4 separate regions of the Homo sapiens genome follow, and regions 2, 3 and 4 are each linked to region 1. The links are contacts of gene promoters, found by promoter capture Hi-C in blood cells and fetal thymus (Javierre and others, 2016). All regions are on one chromosome and are shown on one strand. Each heading gives the region's core, a stretch centred on a gene start or on the middle of the fragment in contact. The rest is flanking DNA. Distances are from core to core; before and after follow the strand shown.

Region 1 (3,194 bases), core at 548-3,047:
GGGGCCTTAGTTTCTTTACATTAAAGGAGAAGACTAAACTAAGTTTATTCTTTCAAAAGACCCTTTACTAGGTGTCCTTGTCTACATTTCCAAAATATTGGACTTGTCCATGACCAAACAGGTGGGAATGAAGGCCATTATTTTGATTATTTTTCTCTTTTAAGAATTTCCAGAAATATGTTCTTTGTAGATAAAGAATTACATATTTGTAGAGTTCTAAGCGTTCTTAAAATTCATTTTGCCCAACTCCTTCCTTTCCTAAAGGAGACAACAGAAGCTGCAGAAATAGCCTCTCTGTTATTATTACATAGCAGCAGTCTCCTGTCTTTAAATATTTGAACTAAACACATTTTACATTTTAATGAATTTAATTTACAGTGTGATGTCCAGTATTGGGATTGCATACTATTTCTTAAAACTTCTTAGAACTGTTAGCTCTAATATATCAAATTTCTTGTTGGGAGTAAGACTGCAAGTTAAAAAAAAAAATTAGAACCTTAGTTTGGAGGAACCTTAAAGGTCATGTCAACTGAAAAAATACGAAAGGAATGGTACTGAAAGGCATGAACATAACAGAGATTGAATGCTTTCTCCAGGTGGAGAGACTCCACAGTCTGGCAGGGACTTTTTGTCCTATTTAAAAATATAGCTAACACCAGTTTGGTGTTCTCTTTGGATGACAAGAGGGATCTGTCGTTTTAATGTCTTCTCTCGCAGCCCCCTCACCGCAGCCCCCTCACACCTGTGAGGCTTCTTTGACGTTGAGCGTGCACAACCCGCTGCCAGTCCGCGGTTCCCAAGTGCCCGCGCAGCCAGCTTGCAGGGGAGTTGTGCGCGGTGGCTACAGCCTGTTGATCCCACTTCCTCCTGCTCTAGTCCGGGCTAGGGAGTGGCTCTGCCAGGACTTCCAAGGCTTTTTGTCTCGGGTACTGGTGTTCGCATGGCTCGAGTGTATTGTTTTCTTCCAGGCAATCTCGGTTAGCGCTTCAGCTTAGACACTTCTTGTGCGTTCTGTCGTCTTGGGCTGCGTGTAGTCTCTTGTTTCTGCGCTTTCTCCACGCCCTTCCCAGTTTCCTGTTAGCCGAAGGGGATCGCTCTTTCTGAACGAAAAGTTCTCAGAGCGGAGCTGAACCTCCCGGAAAATGCTCTTCTCTTCCGTGTGCGCCGGATGGGGGTGGGGGTGGGCCAGAAACTGAACGCCGCCGTCAGGAGAGCTGAGGGGACCCGACGGCCCTGGCGGAGGCGGGAGAGGTACGGTCCTCGGAGTGGGGCTGGGGGTGGGGAAACCGACGAGGGGCAGCCCCCGACTGTCTTGGTGGCAGAGGGGACTTTTATTCAGCTGGAACCGCGCGGCGAGGCCCAAGTGTCTCTGGAGAGATTCGGGGTTCAGGAGGTGGCGGGTGCACCCAAGGGTGCTGGGAGGAAGCTCCAGGTTCCCATTCTTCCCCAGGGATCGGCGTTGCCCCTGCTGTCCAGAAGTGAGAGGGGGTGTGCGGGCATCGCCACTACGGGGTGGGCTGCAGAGGTTTCCTGCCTCCCCCACCCTCCTGTCCATCCTAGGGACCCAGACCGTAAGGGAGTGGAAGAGATGTTGCTCCAAACCCTGTCACCCCATCCTCTCTACCCGCGCTGGTCCTATCCGAGGCTGGGTGCGCAGGGGTCCGAGGCGGGCGGGGGTCCGTTACCTCTGCGTCCCACCGTGGCCGCCGCTCCGGCGGGAACCGAGCGGAGGAGCCGGGTGGACCCCTGCCTGGAGGGCGCCTGCCCCGGGCGACCCTTACCTCGCGGGGGTAGCTAGGGAAACGGAAGATGGCGGCGGCGGCCGGGCACGGGGTTCCGGGCTCCGCTCGGGCAGAGCCCACCCGCTGACCAACGCCGCCGCCCCCGCCGGGCGGTGCTGTGTCCCCGCAGGAGTCGGAGAGGATGGCAGGGGCCGGAGGCCAGCACCACCCTCCGGGCGCCGCTGGAGGAGCGGCCGCCGGAGCCGGCGCCGCGGTCACCTCCGCCGCTGCCTCGGCGGGGCCGGGAGAGGATTCGTCTGACAGCGAAGCGGAGCAAGAGGGACCCCAGAAACTGATCCGCAAAGTGTCTACCTCGGGGCAGATCCGGACCAAGGTAGGGCGGAGGAGGCGGGCCTGAGGGCCGCGTGGAAAGCGGGAGGTGGAGAGGGCGCGGGGGCGCTGGAACGCGCCGGGCGATCCCGGGAAGGCGGGGAAGGCGGGGAAGGCGGGGAAGGCGGGGAAGGCGGGGAAGGCGGGGAAGGCGGGGAAGGCGGGGAAGGCGGGGATGGTGAGACGGTGAGGCGGGGCGGGGCCTGGGGCGCGGGCGGGGCGGGGAGGGGTGGGGCGGGGCCCGGGGGCGCTGGACCGCGGTGCTGCGGGACGGATTCCCGGCGGCTGCGCGGGAGGCTGCGAGCCTGGGCTCCCAGGGAGTTCGACTGGCAGAGGCGGGTGCAGGGAACCCGCGGCTCGGCGGGAGCGTGGGAAAAAGCTGACGCGCAGTCGCGAGTTCCTACTTAGGGAACTTAAAAGGAGAGTTTCAATTTTTCTTCCCTGCCGTTCGGGGGAGCGTGCGCATGTGCTGGCCAACCAGCCTGCGCTGCAGTGAGCCCTGCTGCTTTCCCACTTAGGCCCACTCAGAGGGTGGGTGGAAGGTGACACCGGTCAGCCTTTCCTGCCCCTCTGCCTCCTGCTGCGGTCTGGAAGGCAGAAGCCCCGAGGCAGGCAAGTGGGACATGGTGTTCGCGGCTTAACCGCACCCTGCATGGCTCCAAGGGCTGGCCAGGCTTTCGTGTCGCAGGTTCCCGCCAAGTGCAGGCAGGGTTCAGAACCATGCGTCCATGGTTCTTTTTAATAATGAGAAGTTACCTCTGTGCTGTGTGGACATTAGGATGGTGTGTTACTCTTGTTAATGAAGCTTGTGCTGTCGACCTGTGAGGTCTCAAAGTTAATTTTTAATTTGATCATGAACATACCAAAGCAAATGCTTATGGATATTAAAGGATTTTTATGTATTCTAATTTTCATTGTAATTTAAAAATCTTCACAGAGAGAGTCTGTTATCAGTAGGGAAATTTAACGAGGATATTGAAAACGGAACCACAAAATCATTGGCTTGGGGTACCGTTTTTAAAAATAAATTTGCAAAAAATTCATTCTACAGTTATTTTTATGAAAAATTTTCCCTAAGGTCAA
Region 2 (3,331 bases), core at 497-2,996, 240 kb before region 1:
TGCAGGCTGTACAGGAAGCATAGTACCAACATCTGCTTCTGGTGATGCTGGGACCAAAAATTAATTTTAAAAGATAATATGTTGTATTAAATAAGTTCTAATCAGTGAAGGCAAGGCTGAAATAGCTCTACATTCAGACCAATATATTTTGAAGAATTGGGAATATGCACCATCAGTTAAACTTATCTTATAGTTTTAGTGAAGATCCAGAAACTTACACGCAGTGAGAAAGAATATGTTTACCTGGAAAGGCAGGCTTTAGTAACAGCACTGTGAAGATTTTCATTAGGATACTGTGACAGCCGACGAGAAATTCGCAACAGTTGTCTGGTAGAAAGTGATGCCGCTAATGATTGTGCCTATCAAAAGACAAATACATTGTGTTAAGAGTCTTGTTTCAACTTGCTAAAGTCCCTTTAGATGGATATCACAGCAGAATTCATTATTACTGAAGGGGTAAGGCCAAACTTAAAGTATGTGCTGTTAATTAATTACAAATCAAAATAAACAGAAACCAATTTACACTTAAAACATCCTTGAAGATAGTTTTTAAAAAATCTAAAGTATTTATCAATTAAATTTAATTAATGTATTTTAATTGTGCTAAGTTGGAGATGGGAGGGGCAATGGGGGAAGGATGTTACATAACAAAGGTCACACTGGACTTAGGCTGTATGATTGACTGTTCACTTTTTCTCCTTACACAAAGCCAAGGTGTTAAGATACCACGGAAATGTTTAAAGCTTTAAGCAAATCGGTGGTTTCTAAAATAGCCAAAAAGAGTTGTAAACAATTTAGGCTGTTGGCCACAGAGGTGTCAACCAATTTGTCACTTGTGCTGCAGCTTGCTGTTTTGAATCCTTCCCCTATGCTGTCAGAATACTTTCACTTTGCTATATTACATTTCCCAAAATTCCACGAATAGAGTTGCTAGTACAGAACTCAGGACATGGTCAGTACTCAATAAATATTTGTTGAAATTCTTTTGGCAGGCAGCATAACATAATGGTAAAGTTTATAGGCTTTTGAATCAGATAAGTCGGTATCCTATTTATTAGCTGTGTTACCTTGGCAAATTACTTAACCTTTCCAAGGCTCAGTTCCCTCAACTTTAAAATGGCAATAGTAATGCCCTCACCTTTAAGGTTGTTATGAAGGTTAAATTAGAAAATGATTCTAAAGTGCTTAGCACATGTCACACACATATGGGTGCTCAACGAATGGCAACAACTGTTATTTAAAAATCAGCCTCTTCAAAATGAAAACAAAAAACCCAGCAGAGAAAGGTGATGGGACCTACATATTAGCATATATTTAGTAAATGAGATTATTACTGGCCTAATTCCTAACTTAGATCAGCAGCATTAGAAGACAGTGATTATCACTGAAAACCACAGGACAGAAGCACTTTTGAAGCAACTGGACCTTTGGGAGGGCAAGGCAGGTCAGTATGAAATGTCACAGAGGGTGATAAGGGCAGTAAAGTGGCCCTGAGAACTCAAGGGCCTAGAAAAGAGGACTCTATGAAATTAACAAAGGGTTCAGAATGGATGAGGGGAGAATGTCAAAGACACACTGCACATTTGCTTGTTTTAATGTTCCACCTAAGGTCATCTCCGTATGTCCCAAAGAAGAAAAAAATAATTTATTTATCCTTCCTTGTGTATTTCACATCTCCATAAGATATTGGTTTGCTGTTAGTATTCTATCTCAGCTACAACATTAGTATTATATTTCCTTTGGGAATTAGGTTGGAAGCATGACCACCACATATCCTTTCTTCTATTAAAAAACACATTCTAAGTTTCAAAGAACTCAATTACAAGCAGACATTGGTCCATTCTTGTTTTCAATTAATTTGCATTCCAGATATGGAGACAATATTCAAATATAATAAATCATAAATTACAATTCAAAATAGTATATACTTCAATGCTAAAATAAGTGGAACAGTAGACAGCTGTTATAGGCAGTTAAAATATTCAAATGGGCATGAGAAATCCTCTCATCAAAGGCATGAAAGCAAAAGTAATGGAACCACAAGTAGAACATGAGGAAATGAGACCAGCTTTACTAGAAGGTCCTGCTGGAAGGCTTGCTCTCAAACAACAAAGACCTATGAATGACACTCTGACGGGTTTGGCTTTATTCTTAAAGGCACTAGGATTCTGCTATGTGTAAAGTCGTAACATGATTTTCAAATCAGGTTATTACTAGCCTACTTCCTAATTTAAATCAGCAGCAGCATAGAAAGTGGATGAAGGACAGAGAGAACTGAGACAGGAAACAGAAAGCTACTTCAATAATCTGCCTATAAAAGGAAAAAGTCCTACAGTAAGGTTATGGCAACAAGAATGGAGAGGTAGGATACAACAAACTTGGCAACTGACTTGCTATGAGAAAGAAACATGTATTGAGGATAAAATTCAGGCAATGTGACTGATATCAAAAGTCAAATATAACTCAGAAATTCCCATTTTTAATACCTAGGACCATGAAAAATTCATATTTTAATCATAAAAAATATTTGACAAATGACTCTAACCAGAGGATTCTTATAAGAGTCCTGTTAAACCATAGGGTATAACATTCTAATCTCATTCTAAGCATGACACTGAATTCAGGCTTCACATTTCATTCCAGTCATCAATAAGGAATGCTCATATATTTGAACACCAATTCTCCAGTTCTTCTAGTTGAAAGCACCAAAATGCTTTGCAGTAATAACCAGGGTTGAGAAAATGAGAGATAAGCTTTGTGTTGAGCCATTTAAGTGTTGAATAAAGGGTTTGGTAATCTCTGCTCTCACATTATTATCAATTAAAAATTGAGAGTATACTTTAAAAATTCCTAATGTATTTAACATTTATATCAAATTTCTAACTGCAGTTTTATCTTGCAAAAAAAAAGGGGGGCGGTGAAGATATGAAGCACATTCCCCTAGTTACCATGGTTATACAGTTTAAGAGTACACCTCGAAGGGGTTGTTCATATTAACATGATTAGTAATACTTCAGCTTAAAAACATAAAGGTTCTCATCAGAAATTATTAAACATTATTTTTCTATTCTTCATTTTTATAAAAGAATGAAAATGTAGCATGTTCTAAAGGAGAGAAAACTCTAGGGACAATCTGTTAATAAAATTTTAATTAATCAATTTATTCATTAATTCACCAAAGATTTAAGTGTCTATTATGTGCCAGGCCGCAGGCTGGGAAATGGGACTTAGTCTCAAGGAGCTCAAATAGCAACTGGGGAAATAAAAGTAAATTATAATACAACTGCAATAGGTCAACAATATATAATACAACTTGCAAATATATGTCAAG
Region 3 (3,299 bases), core at 68-2,567, 160 kb before region 1:
ACTCTAGCAATTTACCCAAGATAAGGGCCATCTGAACATCTGTCCTGATTCCAACAGAGCCATGTCTTACACAATAAAATGGCACTGCCCATAGCTTGACAGCAAAGACAAAGCAACAGGATTTTCTTTTCTTACTCGGAGAAGTTTGTCGTAACGCTCAGCAGACATCAGGAAGCGTCCATCTTCAAGCTGCATCTCTCTGTTTTCCAGCAAGTTGTTCAAAACAGGCAAAACATTCCTCTCTGCCTTTTCCAAACCTTCCAAAATGAGAGTTCTGCCTTCTGTGGCTGCACGAACTGCACACTATTTCCAAGAAACGTAAAAGCAAAATGAGAATACTGAAGTTGCAGAGCTTGGCCTAACATTACTTGTAATTCAAATTTAAGTTGCAGTTCTTGTTATAGGGACCAGAAATCAATAAAGCTGAGTTCCAGATCTTGTTTTGCTTTTTCTGCCTATATGATCTTAGGAAAGTGATTTTACCTCTTTGGGCCTGTTTATTCGTTTGTAAAATAAAGGGATTGAAAAAAGAGGATCGCTGAAGTTCCTTTCAGCCTTGATATTTTAGATTATATACCCAATGAAATAAAAAACTAACAGCTATCTATGAACAAGGAACATAATTAAACAAGGGCACAGATTCCACAACTGGAAAAGAAAAATGAAGACAGTTATCTGCCCTACCTATCCCACAAGCTTCTTGTAAGGATCAAAAAAGCTAGGTGAGAAGGCTTGGAGACTGTAACATTTGTAAACATAAGTCATCATCCAAATAAATTGAGGTTTTGTGTGATGATGCTGACAACATTACACACTTAGAAACAGAAAAAGAATCAGATTTTACATTGGCCAATAGCAGACTGACTTAACCAGTACTACAAGTCTTCCAATAAATTTTAAGAAAATTAGTAATGGAGAAAATTAGGAAATAAAGTAAACTGTAATACAAAAAAATTACTATAGATATGAAAAAAATATTTTCCTTTAACTATAGGTCCTTAATAACATAGAAAACTACTTTTTGTCAAAATCCTTCATGTTCTGCTAAAAAAGGAAAACCTGTCATGTTTCTTCTGCACATTCAACCACAGACAGAGGATTAATGGTGCTAAATTTATACTGTTATTCCCTCCCTTAAAACTCGCCTTCATTAGTCTCCATGGCACTGCATTGTCCTAGGAAAATTGTTTTGTCTTCTGTGCCTGTCCATTAAATGTAGATGATGGCCAGAATTACATCCTTAACACACAGCTCTTCTTACCCTACTAGGACCTCCCTGAAAATCTTATTCAATCACATAGTTCCAACTACCACCTTTATGCTAATGACCCCCCAGAATCTTGGGGTTCTGAAACTCCCCCTCATTAGTACCTCATATGGGGTCCCTCAGACCCCATGAGCACCTCAGGTCCCTTGTACAAAACTGAAAATATCCTATTTTCTCCAAACCTGCTTCTCTTCTTTATTTTCTATCTGGGGTGTGAGCACCATTGACCCAGGTCAGAGCCCTTGATGTTTCTTGAACTCATCCCTTTCTACCCCTTCCCTAGTTCAAGCTCTCCTTACCTCTCAGATCACCTCCCAATAGTCCAAGCTCCTTAATTTGGCATATTAGCCTATCACAATGCAGCATCTACCTACCTCTCCAACACCATCTCCTGATATTAGTTGCCTCACATGTGGTATTTCTGTGACAATAAACTGGTTATCTCCTTCTACACATGTACATACCATACTGCTTTACCAGAAAAATGTCTTTACTTATACTGACCCCTCACTTAAAATTTAATTTTCCCTATAGTAATTGTCCAAAAAAAGGATCTAAATGTTTGATGAGGGGAAAACATATCTCTATTTTTTTAAGACTTAATATCCAAATAAATTTCTGGAGTAGCAATGTACTGATTTTCCAAGTGTAGAAAAGAGGCATTGCTTAATCAAGCTTGCATACTATCCTCTTTTAATACACTGTTGAATTTTGCACTGTATAGTAGAGCTTAGTTTATTTCAAGTGTCTACATAATGTTGTAAAATGATAAACTTTATGAAAGCCATATTAGACTCAAGAGAATCATCCATTTTAAGATCATTTCATGAATAATCCCTCAAATATATCATTACTGCAATATTTTAATTCTCTTCTACCAGAGTAGCCATCTTGTTCTAGAAGCTTTATTTAAAAAAAAAAAAAAAAGCATGGGTAGAAGTGACTTAGTAGTTTCTAAAGAACAACAACAAAAAAAAGAATCTCATTTTTGCTAGCTGTATAAAGGACAAAGTCGTAGAAATAGATTCTGGGATATTAAAAGTCAAAATATTGGCCGGGCTCAGTGGCTCATGCCTATAATCTCAGCATTTTGGGAGGCTGAGGAGGGTGGATCACAAGGTCAGAAGTTCAAGACCAGCCTGGCCAATATTGTGAAACCCCGTCTCTACTAGAAATACAAAAATTAGCCAAGTGTGGTGGCGGGCGCCTGTAATCCTAGCTACGTGGGAGGCTGAGGCAGGAGAATGACTTGAACCCAGGAGGCAGAGGTTGCAATGAGCCAAGATCGCACCCCTACACTCCAGCCTGGGCGACAGAGCAAGAATACAAACTACTTCTTATAAAAATTCACATTTCAGTTAAGGTTTCAATTAAGCTTTTGCTCGCAAAAATATATTTACTTCAAGAAAGCACAGCTCAGAACAAAAAAGAAATTAATTGTTATCATAATCTAGGGTAATATTATTTTAAGAAATCTAAAACTTTTAGCAATCTTTCTTATACGACAGACTAAATATTGCATTTGACTTTTTAAAAACTCCATAGGGATGAAAACCCACATTCTTTGAGATAAAACTAGAAATATACAGATCAAAATGTAATGGTTCACCATCTATGGGCCACAAAAAGCAAAGTCTTGACAACATAGGACAACAACAAACACTGCAGCTCCACTTTCATTCACCTCAGGTGTACTGTGGTCTGCTATGCATTGAATCTCTTCAAAGGAATTCAGAACAAGCTATGCAGAGAGATCAAAAACAGAAGCTAAATACACAAGGTTTTTTTTCCATCTACTCTAATGGCAGTACTGTGACCACAAAGTTGAAAAAGTAGGGATAGATGGAAAAAGGATAACACAATTTAATGATCTCTTGAAAATCTGGTCAATGCTGCAACTTTTCTCCACAGTCAAATGCATGCAGGTATATGTATAGAGCAGAGACCTCAATTTAAGAATCTCTACTACTAACGAATGATAGAAATAGAAAATGATCAATTTCGCAAACACCACAGTAGTAACTGCTGCAGT
Region 4 (3,502 bases), core at 569-3,068, 180 kb before region 1:
AATAGCCTGGTCCCGGCTGGCACCTATAATTAAAGAGAGGTCAATATAACATGGCCAGATGTGGTGGCTCACGCCTATAATCCCAACACTTTGGGAGGCCAAGGCAGGCAGATCACTTGAGGTTAGTAGTTCGAGACCAGCCTGGCCAATATGGTGAAACCCCATCTCTACAAAAATACAAAAAAATTAGCTGGGCATGGTGGTGCGCAACTGTGATCCCAACTACTCAGGGGGCTGAGGTAGGAGAATCGCTTGAACCCAGGAGGCGGAGGTTGCAGTGAGCCAAGATTGCGCCACTGCACTGCAGCCTGGGCAACAGAGCGAGACTCTGTCCCAAAAAAAAAAATATATATATATATATATGTGTGTGTGTGTGCGCGTGTGTGTGTGTATATGTGTGTGTGTGTGTGTAAAACATGCATGTTTTTCTCAAAATATCAGTAACTTAAAGTATATAACTGCCACTTAAAAGCCTCCAACTAATAGCTTGCTCAATTTAATTCTTTACTGTTTTTGATATTTCAATAGAGCAGCAACTATTTTTTCATTTAATAGATCTGATGATCATTATTACAAATCTTCCAAATCAATTATTTCCCTAAAATTAAAGTCCCACATTATCAGATGTATTCATAAAAATCATGTCATCTTAATGCTATTTATAACTTATAGTAAAGATATTACTACTGGAGAATAAATTTTTTTCCCAAAATTCTAGTTGTAAGCACAGAATTTAATGTTAGTCCACTGGAATCTCTAAAGTCACCAATGACCTCCTGATTTCTAAAAGTCAAGTCCACAAATCCTTTTCAGGTTTATCTTAGTTTACCACTGAGAGGCATCTGTTCACATATTCTCTCTTCCCATCTTTTACATCTACTTCTCATTTTATTTTTTGTCTTCCCCTTTTATTATTTATCCTCCACTATTAGTTCCCAAGGAGCCATGTTCTGATGAGGACTCTGGGCTGGATCATGTTATATACCACACGAACCAAAGAATTCTAAGTTTGGAAGTGACAGGATCAGATTTGCATTTAAGAATTTAACCTGGTATCAACATGGAAAGCTAACTGGAAGAGACTAGAGGCAATGAGGTTAAAAAGCCATTACCAAAGGGAAGCAAATAATGAAGTCTTGTTCATACCTCATGCTTCTGAACATATTGTTTAAACTGCCAAAAATGTTCTATCCACTCCTGAGCCACTTGAAAAATCCTATATTATTCTTGCAGGCTTAGCTCAAGCTTCATCTTCTCTCTGAAGCTTTCCCTATTCCGTCTCCTGAATCCCAGTATTACTTTCTTCTCCATATCCCCAGTCATTCCAATGCAGTCTTAACTCGTCTGCCTCTATCCTAAACTATCAGCTAGATGAACCATTCATCTGAACAAAACAGAGAGTATAGTGGGGAACTGTCCCTGTCTAGAAATCCCAGCTGTGCCATCTCCTAGCTGCTGTCTCTGGGTGAATCATTAACCTCTTTACATCTCAGTTTTCTAATCTACAAAATGGAGATAATAAAACTTACCTTAATGGATCTTGCGGGATTTAAATCGTGTAATATATGCAGAGACAAATACAGTAAATAGTACACAGTAAACTCATAATATGGAACCTAGCTCATGGTGGATATAATCAATATTCAGTTCAATGAATAAGTACAGTAACATGAATTAATATTAATAATATCAAATATTAAAACAAAAAAGTTTATCATGAGCTGGGCACAGTGGCATGTGCCTGTAGTCCCAGCTACTCAGGAGGCTAAGGCAGGAGTATTGTTTGAGCTCAGGAATTCAAAACAAGCCTGGGCAATATAGTAAGACTCCATAAAATGTGTGTATATATACACATATAGATATATATAGAAGGAGCTGATATATATATAACATATATACATGCAGATGGAGCTCTATGACCAAATATTATTTCCCTCTCTAAAAACAATTCAACCAGAGCAGATCCTTTTTAAACCGTTTCACATAGCTAAGAAAGATTTTACTTGAAAATAGGTCTCTGTAGCAGCTCAAATGTTTGAAAACACTATTTCTTACCAAGGACTCATAGCACAAAATGCTGTCAGTAATCAGCCTGTGACTTGATTTTCCCACAGGTCAACTTTGAATTTTTGATGAAAGGCTTTCCCTATGTTTCTCCTGAACTTTTCCAGTTTATAAGCACACATGACTCTGGAGACATAGACATATAGATACCGACAGAAGCAGTACTATCAAGAGAGAAGACTTACAAGGAGATCATAAACCCAATTTAGGTCATAAAAACAGGCAGAATAAGGTATATCATAGAAAGAATAAACCTGTGATTAATTACCTTAATGGTCACCTCTTTATCTGCAATCCGGATGGTCACAGAAGCTTGGGACACATGGTTTTCCATCATCTTCTCTACTTTTACAATCTCTTTAGGAAGTAGAGAGCTTCCTGAATCTTGAAGTTCAAAGCGCTGTAAAATTACAAGAAAATCATGCAATTTACTTTTCATTTTAGCATTAACATTGGCTATCTGACAGATTACACCTTAATTACAAGTGAAATCCATTTTATATTATTATATAAAAGTAGAGGTTAGGCCAAGGGCGGTGGCTCAGGCCTGTTAATCCCAGAACTTTGGGAGGCCAAGGCGGGCGGATCAGAGGGTCAGGAGATCGAGACCATCCTGGCTAACACGGTGAAACCCCGTCTCTACTAAAAAATAGAAAAAAAATTAGCTGGGCGTGGTGGCGGGCACCTGTAGTACCAGCTACTCGGGAGGCTGAGGCAAGAGAATGGCGTGAACCCGGGAGGTGGAGCTTGCAGTGAGCCGAGATCGCGCCACTGCACTCCAGCATGGGCAAAACGGCAAGACTCCGTCTCAAAAAAAAAAAAAAAAAAAGGAAAAAAAAAAAGTAGAGGTTAAAAAAAGTTAACGAAAATTTTTTTCTATTCCTACTAATACCATTCTACTTACAATAATTATTAAAGATCATATTAAAATAGTCCCTAAAATTTACTAAATGACAAGAAATGGAATCACTGAATTCCTGACCTGGTAGAAGTTCATAGTTTACATTTCTTGACAATCAACTTCCTAGAAGGAGATGATGAGACCCTTCAAAATATGCTGAAATAGGCCCATATTGGTTTATTCTTTAAATCAATCGAAGTTAATGTGTTACCTGAAATTCATGAAAACAGAACTTCTTGGCCATCATTCTGCTGTCAGCTATGTGAATAGCTTAACTAAAATTATTATAACAATTTTCCACAGCATATGGTACAGTGCTTTCTACACTATAGGGGTCTCAATATTTGTTGAACTGGATTTAAAAGGCTAGAACCACCAGGCACAGTAGCTCATGCCTGTAATCCCAGCACTTTGGGACGCCAAGGCAAGCGGATCACCTGAGGTCAGGAGTTCGACACGAGCCTGGCCAACATGGTGAAACCCTGTCTACTAAAAATACAAAAATTAGCTGGGCATGGTGGCACGCACCTGTAGTCC

The links. Contacts are between HindIII fragments. The CHiCAGO score rates a contact against its expected background, and 5 or more counts as called.
Region 2: a contact is called between a fragment that was not itself captured here and the fragment with the promoter of DGKH in region 1, in 3 of 17 cell types (M0 macrophages, M1 macrophages and M2 macrophages). The highest score is 5.7, in M0 macrophages.
Region 3: a contact is called between a fragment that was not itself captured here and the fragment with the promoter of DGKH in region 1, in 1 of 17 cell types (M1 macrophages). The highest score is 6.0, in M1 macrophages.
Region 4: a contact is called between a fragment that was not itself captured here and the fragment with the promoter of DGKH in region 1, in 2 of 17 cell types (M1 macrophages and M0 macrophages). The highest score is 6.8, in M1 macrophages.

What each region holds. Positions count from the first base shown.
Region 1 is chr13:42,046,851-42,050,044 of GRCh38, forward strand. It overlaps DGKH (diacylglycerol kinase eta), which reads left to right and starts at 1,798. Exons shown (of 30, transcript NM_178009.5): 1 at 1,798-2,115. The coding sequence starts at 1,924. RefSeq lists an enhancer at 945-1,034 and a silencer at 1,575-2,104. The HindIII fragment of the contact is 8,345 bases long and covers 1-2,914 here.
Region 2 is chr13:41,810,982-41,814,312 of GRCh38, forward strand. VWA8 (von Willebrand factor A domain containing 8) reads right to left here. Exons shown (of 45, transcript NM_015058.2): 17 at 244-359. Among named protein-coding and RNA genes, the nearest start is that of VWA8, 150 kb to the right of the region's middle. RefSeq lists an enhancer at 1,931-1,980. The HindIII fragment of the contact is 2,010 bases long and covers 742-2,751 here.
Region 3 is chr13:41,891,285-41,894,583 of GRCh38, forward strand. VWA8 (von Willebrand factor A domain containing 8) reads right to left here. Exons shown (of 45, transcript NM_015058.2): 5 at 136-303. Among named protein-coding and RNA genes, the nearest start is that of VWA8, 68 kb to the right of the region's middle. The HindIII fragment of the contact is 1,246 bases long and covers 695-1,940 here.
Region 4 is chr13:41,866,014-41,869,515 of GRCh38, forward strand. VWA8 (von Willebrand factor A domain containing 8) reads right to left here. Exons shown (of 45, transcript NM_015058.2): 10 at 2,333-2,464; 11 at 1-23. Among named protein-coding and RNA genes, the nearest start is that of VWA8, 93 kb to the right of the region's middle. The HindIII fragment of the contact is 1,112 bases long and covers 1,263-2,374 here.